Linked DNA regions of Homo sapiens: regions 1, 2 and 4 are each linked to region 3. The links are contacts of gene promoters, found by promoter capture Hi-C in blood cells and fetal thymus (Javierre and others, 2016). All regions are on one chromosome and are shown on one strand. The core of a region is centred on a gene start or on the middle of the fragment in contact, and the rest is flanking DNA. Distances in the headings are between cores, read along the strand shown.

Region 1 (2,700 bases), core at 38-2,537, 7.0 Mb after region 3:
GAGAGGAAGAGATTGTACAAAGTCACTCCCCAGGTAGCCCAGGGTAATGATGGTAAAAATAATAGTTGCCCCTTCTGGCTTCTAACCAGGAGTCATCTCACTCAACCTCACCACAACCCTTTTTACAGTTGAAGACACTGAGGCTCAGGAAGGTGACCTGTAGCTTGTGGAGCTGCATTTCTAAACACGGCCTGTCTCAACTGCCTGTCATCAGGACAGGGTGTCAGGACCTGGGGCTAAGGATGGGACCCAGGAATCAGAAACAGACCCAAGTCAGAAGCAGAGAAGCAGCAAAGCGGGACTGGATGCCTAACCCAGACTGGGCAGAGCTGGGAGCGCCCTAGCCTCAGGGCGGGTGCAGACAGGGGGTCACGAAGCCGGATCTCAGTGACAGAGTCCGCCACCTCTTTCTTTCCAGGGTACAGACCAGAGGAGCCTAGTGGGAGGGGAGCAGGCAGATTCTTTCCCTCTCTGGCAGGGGCATGTATCATACCGGGGAGTGGAGGAGGATAAGGGCGGCATCTTTCTTGGGTTGGTCCCTTGGGCATCCACATGGGAGTGGCCCTCCGTCGGTTCCCTGGTCCAGGGTCCCCGGTCTTACCGGGACAAGGACAGCAAGACGGGAGACGGCAGCCCCATCCCTTAGCTTCGGCTGCCATCTGGTGGCCAAAGCGCAGAACTGCACCATGTGGAACCACCGGATCCCCCCACCCAGCCCCGGCCGGGCCTCCCGGGGGCACGAGGGGCGTGGCACGACTCCCACAGCCATCAGCCTGAGGACCCTGCCCTCAGCCGCCTCAGTCTGAGGGGAAGGCATGGCCCTGACCTTAGAGACCCCAATTTGGCGATGGGGCATCACATCCCTCCGGGCATCTCAGAGCTGCCTGCCCGAGGGAGGCGAAGCAGATGGAAAGCCCCCCAGCCACGTCTCTCAGTCAGAGGAAACGGGTCTCCTCTTCGGCCAGCCGGGTCCTCTTCCCCCGGGTGCCGCCTGGCTGTGCGACCCGGCAGTCCTCCCGCCTCTCCGGGCCTCAGCCTCCTCTCCTGGACAGTCCCGTGGGCTTCCGGGAGCCCGGTGTCACACCGCCCCGCGTGTCGCAGGTGGTCATCGTGGTGACAGACGGGAGGCCCCAGGACAGCGTGCAGGACGTGTCTGCGCGGGCCCGGGCCAGCGGCGTCGAGCTGTTCGCCATCGGAGTGGGCAGCGTGGACAAGGCCACGCTGCGGCAGATCGCCAGCGAGCCGCAGGACGAACACGTCGATTACGTGGAGAGCTACAGCGTCATCGAGAAGCTGTCCAGGAAGTTCCAGGAGGCCTTCTGCGGTGCGCGGGCAGGCGGGGGCGGAGCCAGGGCAGGGGCGGAGAAGGGGAGAGCGGCGGGGCGGGGCCAGGGCTGGAGGCGGGACCGAGGCTGAGGCGCAGACGGAGCCAGCGCCGGCGCAGGGCAGGGGCGGGGCCGGGGGGGGGGCAGAGGCGGAGACGGGAGAGAGATAGAATGTCAGTGCCGGGGCGGGGCCGGGGAGGAGCCGGGGGCGGAGGCGGAGACGGAGAGAGTCAGCGCCGGGGCGGGGCAAGGGTGGGGCCAGGGCAGGGGCGGAGACGGAGAGAGCGGCGGGGCGGGGCCAGAGCAGGCAGGGGGCGGGGCCAGGGCAGGGGCGAAGACGGAGACAGTCAGTGCCAGGGCGGGACCGGGGCGGAGGCGGAGAGAGTCGGCTCCAGGGGCAGGGCCAGGGCTGAGCGGGACGAGGCCGTGGCAGGCGCAGAGACTGAGAGTCCGCGCTGAGGCGGGCCAAGGCTAGGGGCGGAGCCAGCGCTAAAGTGAAGACAGAAAAAGTCAGCGTCGGGGGGCGGGGCCACATCAGAGGGCGGGGCCTGGCTGGGGCGGTAGCCTATAAAACGGCGGGAACTGAGTTACACGGCAACATCAGGGCGGGGCCAGGGCTAGGGACACGGCTTAGGTGGATTGGGGGTGGAACCTGGATTAGACTGAGGTGGTGCCAGCACCAGGGGTGGGGCCGTAGCTGGGGCGGAGCCTGATAACGGAGGAGGGTCTCCAGCCCCAGGTTAAGGGAGTTGGGGAGAGGCGATGTTAAGAGTCCTTTTATGGCCGGGCGCGGTGGCTCACGCCTGTAATCCCAGCACTTTGAGAGGCCGAGGCGGGCGGATCACGAAGTCAGGAGATCGAGACCATCCTGGCCAACATGGTGAAACCGGTCTCTACTAAAAATACAAAAAATTAGCCGGGCGTTGTTGCGGGCGCCTGTAGTCCCAGCTACTCGGGAGGCTGCGCCAGGAAAACGGCGTGAACCCGGGAAGCGGAGCTTGCAGTGAGCCGAGATCGTGCCACTGCACTCCAGCCTGGGCGACAGAGCGAGACGACTCCGTCTCAAAAAAAAAACAAAACAAAAAAAAAAACCGCACACACAAAAAACAACAGAGCCCTTTTATGTGGCAGAATCCTGGCAGGGACCAAGGAGGGCCCAGAGCTCAGGAAGGAGAGCTCCCAGAAAACCTACACATGTTTCTGTGTCGTGAGTTTTGGGTGCCAGAGTTTTCTGTGATGCGGGAGAGTCTGAGAGGCCTGGGCACTGGCAGGAGAAGGTTCAGAGCCCTTCTCGGAGGGGAGGTGTGTGTGTGGGTCTTTGGGATGTGACCCGCAGGGGCAGGGTGTCCAGTAGGACAGGATCAGGGTTAGGGCA
Region 2 (2,700 bases), core at 54-2,553, 8.5 Mb after region 3:
TTATTTATTTTGAGATGAGATCATGCCATGTTGCCCAGGCTGGTCTTGAACTCCTGGGCTCAAGGGATCCTCCCACCTCAGCCTCCTGAGTAGCAGGGATTGCAGGTGTGTACCACCACACCCAGCTTGACCTGTAGTGCTTTTAGAAACTACCGTATGTATTCCTAGGCCCCACTCCTGAGGTACTTAGTAGGTCTAGGATGGCTTGGAGCTTCTGTTTTTTTCAAAGCTCTCCAGGTGACTCTGCTGCCCAGGCCAGGCTTGAGAACCACTGCCTTGTGGATACAGATTGTCAGACAAGCAGTAATTCTCTCCGTGCTCCAGAAGGGCAACTTTACTTTCTGACCCAGATTCAGGCGGCTTTACTTGTTCTCGTATGGACTGAAGCCAGAGACTGGGATTCTCTTTGTAGTCATGTCTTACAAGGTTTAGGGTAACCACACTGTCACAGAAAGAATCAGGTGTCCTTTACACATCCTGGTAACTGGCTGTCTGGGTCAGGTTACACCAGGTAGGGGTCATGGGACTACCTAGAGTCTGAACAGAGCATTGTCAGAACTAGTGTGGTTTGTGATGCTTGCGCTGTGGGCCACACCTCTGCAAGCAGGAGGGAAGGAATGAGGAACAGCCTTCTCAGGTCTGAATCCTCAAAAGGAGGCCTCCAGGTTTCTCCTGTTCTCACGTCCCTGTTTTCATTCCTGTTGGCCTCCAAACATTGCAGCTGTTCTCTCCTAAGCCATTTTCCCCTGTTGCTTAGTTTCTTTCCCTTTCTTCCAAAATGGGATTCCCTAAATAAGTATTTGGGCCTTTTTTATTTAAAAGATTAAACTGTAGATCTAAGTAAAGTAAGACTGTGCAGAAGAATGACAAACATTTGAGAAATTTCAGAGTTCTCCATAGCCACTGTCCCTTGTGCAGAGTTCTAGATTCCCTATCAGATAGTTCCCAGAAACCCAGGGGCCAGGCATGGTGGCTCATGCCTGTAATCCCAGCACTTTGGGAGGCCGAGGCGGGCGGATCACCAGAGGTCAGGTGCTCGAGACCAGCCTGGCCACATGTCGAAACCCTGTCTCTACTAAAAATACAAAAATTAGTCGGGCACAGTGGTGCATGCCTGTAATCCTAGCTACTCGGGAGACCGAGGCAGGAGAATCGCTTGAACCCAGGAGGCAGAGGTTGCAGTGAGCTGAGATTGCACCACACCACTGCACTCCAGCCTCAGCGACAGAGTGAGGCTGTGTCTCAAAAAAAAAAAAAAAAAAAAAAAAGATAGTTCCCAGAAACGCTTAGTTCTTCTCTTGCCTTCTTTTTTTCCTGAAAGTCCGCTCAGAACTTTGCCATTCTCTGGATCTTCTGGTGAAAACAGCTTTCATTTATTGTATACCTGCTGTATAGCAAGCATTGGACTAAATGCTCCCTGTATATTACGGGGTTTTAAAATCAAAACACTCCAGTTTGGTTATTATTACTTCCACTTTACAGATAAGGAAATTGAAGCTCAAGTAGATTGAAAGGCACTTATCCGAGATCTTACAGCTAGGATGCCCCTTCTTTATTAAAAGTCCTTGATATAGACATAGGCCTGAGGAAACAACAGCAGTCACCTCAAATGATTTCTTCAAATAAACTTTTTTAAATATTTTAAATAAAAAATATAGATGGGGTTTCACCATGTTGCCCAAGATGATCTCAAACACCTCAGCTCAAGCGATCCTTCTGCCTCAACCTCCCAAAGTCTCAAATGATTTTTGAGAATGAGATGGACTATAAAATTGGGAAAAAGGTCAGAAGAGAAGGTGAAATTGTAGGTCATTCAGGTAACCCCAAATTTCTACGCTGTAGAAAGGGCAGCCCCAATCCTGGGAAAGTTTAGAAATACCATTCTCTGTCTCCTCCCCTTTTCAGGATCCCGAGGCTTTTGTAAAACAGCATCCTGATCATCTTGGCTTTCTCACCTGCCTGCTGCTAGTACAACAATGAAACTAAGCTGGAGCTGGAAACCCGTGGACATATACCCGTTCTGTCTTTTTTTTTTTTTTTTTTTTTTTTTTTTAGATAGAGCCTGGCTCTGTCCCCCAGGCTGGAGTGCAGTGGTGCAATCTCGGCTCACTGCAACCTCCACCTCCCAGGTTCAAGTGATTCTCCTGCCTCAGCCTCCTGAGTAGCTGGGATTACAGGCGCGTGCCACCACACCCAGCTAATTTTTGTATTTTTAGTGAAGACAGGGTTTCGCCATGTTGGCCAGGCTGGTCTTGAACTCTTGACCTCAGGTGATCCACCTGCCTCAGCCTCCCAAATTGCTGGGATTACAGGCATGAGCCACGGCACCCGGCCTACCCATTCTGTCTTAAGCCAGATGGACTTTGGAGGAGCAGGTAGTGGGGCCCCAGTCTGTCCATTCTCACTATAGGGCACTGTTTACTCTCAGGAATTTCTTCTTTTTACAGTTAATATAAAGCAAAACTGCAGGTGACTTGATTTTTAAACCCACATTTTAGTACTTTGGGGAAAAAATAGCATTTTGGGTTTGGTGCTCTGTTTAGAGCTCTTTATTGTGGTCATGAATGGAGTGGGAACAGAAGGCATTGATATAGTAAGTTGGCCAGCATGTATTCTTTGAGAGTTTACTGAGTGCAAGGCACTGAGGGTACAGAGTTGAATCTGTTGTGGTCGTTGCCCTCAGAGCCTCACAGCCTAATC
Region 3 (2,700 bases), core at 79-2,578:
TTTTAGGTTAGCAATTTCCATAAGCTGCAGAAGGAGCTGCTTCGGGTTATTCTTCTATCTGAGCTCTGGTTAACTAACCATGTCATTTATTCATTCATTTTTAAATGGGTAAAATATACATATATTTTTAAAAATACTATTTTCTGGCCGGGCGCAGTGGCTGACTCCTGTAATCCCAGCACTTTGGGAGGCCTATGTAGGTGGATCACTTGAGGTCAGGAGTTCGAGACCAGCCTGGCCAACATGGTGAAACCCCGTCTCTACTGAAAATACAAAAATCAGCGGGGCATGGTGGCAGGCGACCGTAATCCCAGCCACTCCAGAGGCTGAGGCAGGAGAATCACTTGAACCCAGAAGGTGGAGGTTGCAGTGAGCAGGGATCGCACCACTGCACTGCACTGCACTCCAGCCTGGGTGACAGAGTGAGACTCTGTTTAAAAAAAATTAAATAAATTTCCTGATGTGTGAAAATTATGTGAAATTCACATTTCAGTGTATCCATAACTAAAATTTTATTGGAATACAGCCCATCCATGCCCATTCACTACAGCTGTTTTGGACCTGTAAACAGCAGAGCTGAGTTGTCCGACAGAGACCGCCCCGCCCGCCGCCCCCCAACCACCCCCCCATTTTTCATAGAGAAAAATGAAGTAGGGAAGTGAGACAGAGAGTGAAAGGGTCTGCAATTTTCCATAAGTGGTCATGTCAGATCTCATTAAAAGGTGACATCTGAGCGAGCCCTTTCTGAAGGGTGTCACCTAACCCCAAGGGGCTCCTGGCCTCCGCCCAGGGAAGCTCTCCAGCTCTTACCGAAGTAGTCAAGCCAGTTCATCTCGCGCAGAGCCTTGGGGAGCCGCAGGATCTCGATGTTGTAGAGGTTATCCACCTCCTTGAGGAGGTTCTGCCTGTCTGACTCAATTTGCTTGATTCGTATTTCCACTGCGGGAGGGCAGAGCCGACAGGACACGGGTCACGGGCGGGCGAATCTGTGCAGCTCGTGTCCCCACCCGCCAGCATCCCGCGACCGCCCCAGGAGGCCGCGACGGCCTGGCCCCTTACCTTCACGGTCGAAGTCTTTCAGAAAGGAGGCGAGCTTCCGCCTCCGTAAGGAGTTGGTCTTGGCCACCCGACTACTGCCCTTCCTAGGAGCCATGGCGCTCGGCGGAGGCTGCGGGGAGCGGCGGAGATGGGGCAGGGAAGCAAGAAACTGGGTAGGGACGAGGAGGGCGGACGGGGACCACCCGAAGAAGTCGCCAGGCACGTACCTGCGGTCCCGAGACAAGGGCTGAGCAAAACCTCGCTGTGCCAGTGAGAGAGAGCGGCTCTACAGTCAACCGCCACCCAATTCAAACTCCACAGTCACAGGCTGACGAATGAGAAGCCGCCGTCCCACAACATCCAATCACAAGCAAGTTCCTGCCGGCCCAGGGTCTTCCGCCCAATGCGCCCCCTATAGCCTGAGTGCGACAGCGAGGCCGCCGCCGTCGCGGGTACTCCTGGGAGTTGTGGTCCAGGCTTGTTTCCCCGCCCTCCCCACCAACCCACCCGGCTCCGCCCTGGCCGGCTGCGAACTATACAAACTACTACTCCCGGCAGGCCTTGTGGCGGCTCTGCAATACCCCAAGCTCTGGAGGGCTGGGGGCCTACTAGGTCAGGTCGGCTGTAGGATTCTGCTCCAGGGTTGGCGGCTGCTTCTTTCTGGCCTGGCTGCCACTGAGTAGCCGAGGGGCCGCCGTGACCCTCTGACTGATTGACTGGCTGGCTGCCTACGTCGGCGCTCCTCAGGGCCCCAAGCTCCTCAGGCCGAACTTCGGGCAAGTGGCGGGTCGGCAGAGACAGAGCAGCCCCGGCAGGGTTTGACAGAGCAAGGGGGACGGAATGATAGAGGAGCAGGGCAGGGGTGCAGGCTTTGGGGGGGGCGCGCTATCCCGCGGCCAGTCTGGGCAGCGAGTGGGGGGAACCCTGTCGTTCCTCGCTCCCCCGCGGGCCGGCCACTCCCGCCCAGTTCGCGTGTTGGCGCCTCGACTGGGTGCGCAGCGCGGGGCTGCGACTTCAGGTGCAAGTAGTGGCGCTTGGCAGCTGGCCACACGGTGACTGCAGCATGAGCCGCGGCCACCAGGCTCCAGGGAGCCCAGGGCAGGAGGCAGCTCTGGGTGTCGTGGCCGTGGGCCTGGGAATGGGCGTGTAGACGGCGAGCCCCGCCGAGCCGCGGTCCTGTCGGAGGTGCTAACTGTGCATCTTGGTATCTGCCCACGGCCACAGGGTTGGATTGCTCAAGAGTTGTGCTGAGACCCAGAAGGCTAGAGGCTAGTTTCGAAGCTGTAGCTCAGGCTGAGTCTCAAGGCGGGCGGCGACTGGACGGCCAGACCGGCGAGCTCTTGACGGGTTTGTGGCCTGATTGTTTGGATTTGGTGCTTTTCACCTGTGGATGCGGTCTGAAGCCATGTCAGAGGGGTTGTGTTTAAGCGTGCATGTTATAGGCTATGGGAGTGATAATCTTGCCTCTCCCCCTCTGAGTTGAGGAACAATCGAAGAAATAAGCAAAGGTGCCAAGCAGGCTCCTGATGGGCACCAGCGAGCTTGGGGACAGAGCAGTCCAAGCATAGAAGTCCTGGCAAGCCTGGACCTTCCTGGAAAGTCCTTTCTCTCTCTTCCACCCTGGTCTGTTGCTCCATATGCAACAAATATTTGAATGTCGCT
Region 4 (2,700 bases), core at 136-2,635, 6.3 Mb before region 3:
CTCGAGTCTCTCCACCTCGCCCTGCCAGCCCTGTTTTATTCCCGAGCCTGCTCGCGGGCCCCTAAGGCGTCCTCTCTGGCAGCCGTGCGTCCTAGCCTGTGGCGGGTGGCGCCGCGCGTGCCCTCTGCCTCACCTTGCTCACGGCGTCTCTCCGCCCCAGTGCGCCTGTTGGCGCTCGCTCCGCTGCCTGGCTAACACCTGCTGTCCTCCGAAATCGTCCTTCCGGCAAGCCTTCCCTAACCCAGTGGCAGGGAAGCGCGTTTGCTGGGCTCCCGCGATGTCCTGGTGATGCTTATTAAGCTTCAGTAAGATGTCACTACCCTGTCGAAATGCCCTGATGGCTCCCATTTCATTCAGGAGAAAAGCCAAAGTTCTCACAATAGCCTGCTAGGCTCCCCACGCCCCTCAGCTGACTTCACCTTCTAATATTCCCCCACTAACTCCCTCCTCTGGCTGCACTGCCCTCCTTGCTATTTCTTTGAACGTGCCAACCATACCGCGACCTCACTGCCCTTGCACTTGCTCTCTCTGCTTCTCCTAACTATACATGCGGCTCATCCTGTAACTTCCTTTCAGTTTTTGCTCACCTTCTTGAAAAGGCCTTCTCTGACCATTCTGTTTAATATTCCACCCCACTTAAACGCTCCTCTGCTTCCCAGCTTTACATTTCTCACGGTACTTACTGATCACCATTTGGCATACTAAGTATTTTATTTGTCCAACTCCCCTGGAAGAGTGGAAGCACCATGGCTTTTGTGTCGCTCACTGCTGTATTTCCAGTACCTGGCACAGAGTGTGTCCTCAGTACATATTTGTAGAACACATGACTGATGCCCACTTTGTCTGGGTTACCTTGTTAGCTTACAGCTCTGCCTCCACCATTAGACTAGGCATTCCCTGAGGGCAGGGACCACATCTCCTTTGTTCACCTTCAATACCCTCGACAATGCCACTGTGACCAGATTCTCAACAAATGTGGGGAAGAAGAGGCGAGTCTTTTCATTTCACCCCTCTCCACCTTTAGGGCCCAGCAACCCCACTTGCTTGAAGCATCCGCCATGTTGGTTCATGTTTAAGCCCAAAGGTCTTTTTCACTCCTTTTCTCCTGACAATTATTTTTTCCTCCAAAAGATCCAGCATAGGTGTTATGCCCTCTGGGAAGCCTCCTCTTAGTCCTTGTCAGGTATCTCCTGTGGGATCCAGCTGTCCCTGGGGCTTCCCTCCTCCCAGATAGAGCTGTTTCACTGTGTACTGACTGCGTATTTAACTCTCTTTCCAGGTACACTGGAAAGGAATCTGGTTAAATACAGTTAACATCTACATCCCAGGACCAGTGCAGGACCTGCAGTATTTCATGAATTAAAAAGAAACACAAAGAGAAAAGGTATCTGGTTTATTTAGGTTGCTGTGATCTCCCTGAGAAATAAGAGTCAGTATAGACCAACGCTGTCCAACCAATAGAACTTTCTGCCATGATGGCATATCCTGTAGCTGCACTGTCCCCTCATGTGGCTGTCTGAACACTTGAATGACTAATGTGACTGAGAAACTGAGCTTTTAATCTTAATTAACTTAAATTTAAGTTTAGCCACATGTATTTAGTGGCTACTGTACTGGACAGTGCAGGTCTAGCTAGACCAGTGGTTCTCAATTGAGGGCAATTTTCCCCCACAGATAACATTTGCCAAGGTCTGGAGATATTTTTGGTTGTCACAACTGGGGGAGTGCTTCTGATGTCTAGTGGGCAGAGGCCAGGGATGCTGCTGAGCACCCTACCATACACCAGACAGCCCCACAACAAAGAATTATCTGGCCCCAAATGTCAAGTACGAGTTTGAGAAACCCTGGTCTAGACTGTCTAGCACCTGCCTTTTGACAAGGACAGACCCTCAACTGCAGCCTGGGAACTGGGATTGGCCAAAGGTCCTGGGCTGCCCTCAGGAAGACAGATGGGTCCAGAGGCCTCAGGGAAGTCCCTAAGCCCTTTATTCCATCAGCCAAACAACACGCATTACTGGGCATGTGCTGAGCTTGTGCCAGTGCCAGGACAGGACAGAGACGGATCCTATCCTGTGAAGGGCTGCCTGCTCTCCCTCCTTCCAGGGTCCTTCAAGGATCTTGGCAGGGGGATGGGAGGTTGGTGCAGGGAGCACTAAAGGTCCTAGCAGCCATTCATAAGTCCATCTATGTCTCCAGCCCCACATGGTATCAGCCGCTTCCCTCATCCTCATAGGCGATGGCAATCCCTCGTCTTCCACTCACAGCTTCTGTCACTGGCGTCTGACCCAGGCGGGGCTCCAGCCCTTGCCAGCTCCGGGAACTAAGGAATGAGGCTGTAGAGGGAGGGGGCTCAGTCTGAGTGCGCTGCATCTGGAGAAAAAGCTCAGCTGGGAGTGGAGACTTGTACATTTACCTGCAGGACTGCTCTCAGCCAGCTCCAGCTGGGGCCGTGGGGTCAGAGCCAAGCTTCCATGATCATTTGATGACTTCCAGGCAGGTGGGGGTCGGAGATCTCCAGTAATGAGTGACACGTCTGGGGTTTCCCACAGCTCTGACTCAGGTGGTGGGAGAGCCACGTGGAAGGGAGAGCCTGAAAGGGAGGAGGAAAGAAAATCCATACTCACCCCCTGACTCCGTGCCCCAGGTTTCCAGCTTAGGCAATGCCCCCACTACTCACCAGGCAATAAGTCCGCATAATGT

What was found. Contacts are between HindIII fragments. The CHiCAGO score rates a contact against its expected background, and 5 or more counts as called.
Region 1: a contact is called between the fragment with the promoter of MATN1-AS1 here and the fragment with the promoter of CDCA8 in region 3, in 2 of 17 cell types (total CD4 T cells and activated CD4 T cells). The highest score is 6.1, in total CD4 T cells.
Region 2: a contact is called between a fragment that was not itself captured here and the fragment with the promoter of CDCA8 in region 3, in 4 of 17 cell types (naive CD8 T cells, total CD8 T cells, naive CD4 T cells and 1 more). The highest score is 7.6, in naive CD8 T cells.
Region 4: a contact is called between a fragment that was not itself captured here and the fragment with the promoter of CDCA8 in region 3, in 6 of 17 cell types (naive CD8 T cells, fetal thymus, naive CD4 T cells and 3 more). The highest score is 14.0, in naive CD8 T cells.

What each region holds. Positions count from the first base shown.
Region 1 is chr1:30,717,359-30,720,058 of GRCh38, reverse strand. It overlaps MATN1-AS1 (MATN1 antisense RNA 1), which reads right to left and starts at 1,287. Exons shown (of 4, transcript NR_034182.1): 1 at 494-1,287. It overlaps MATN1 (matrilin 1), which reads left to right. Exons shown (of 8, transcript NM_002379.3): 3 at 1,102-1,324. RefSeq lists silencers at 675-764, 1,325-1,844, 1,885-2,064 and enhancers at 422-997, 1,095-1,264. The HindIII fragment of the contact is 4,958 bases long and covers 1-2,700 here.
Region 2 is chr1:29,225,521-29,228,220 of GRCh38, reverse strand. All of the region lies in intron 1 of MECR (mitochondrial trans-2-enoyl-CoA reductase), which reads left to right. Among named protein-coding and RNA genes, the nearest start is that of MECR, 4.1 kb to the left of the region's middle. The HindIII fragment of the contact is 3,518 bases long and covers 1-2,700 here.
Region 3 is chr1:37,691,144-37,693,843 of GRCh38, reverse strand. It overlaps CDCA8 (cell division cycle associated 8), which reads right to left and starts at 1,328. Exons shown (of 10, transcript NM_001256875.2): 1 at 1,060-1,328; 2 at 811-939. The coding sequence starts at 1,153. It also overlaps a transcript of AIRIM not described here. RefSeq lists enhancers at 547-1,055, 1,056-1,566, 1,605-1,794, 1,567-2,076, 2,077-2,587 and silencers at 2,025-2,194, 2,215-2,274. The HindIII fragment of the contact is 4,527 bases long and covers 1-2,700 here.
Region 4 is chr1:43,972,048-43,974,747 of GRCh38, reverse strand. DPH2 (diphthamide biosynthesis 2) reads right to left here. Exons shown (of 6, transcript NM_001384.5): 4 at 2,678-2,700; 5 at 2,414-2,590; 6 at 1,379-2,333. The coding sequence ends at 2,209. It overlaps LOC124904167 (a long non-coding RNA gene), which reads left to right. Exons shown (of 2, transcript XR_007066053.1): 1 at 1-305; 2 at 861-1,383. Among named protein-coding and RNA genes, the nearest start is that of ATP6V0B, 1.6 kb to the left of the region's middle. RefSeq lists enhancers at 1-49, 100-219, 1-635, 1,866-2,700. The HindIII fragment of the contact is 2,166 bases long and covers 303-2,468 here.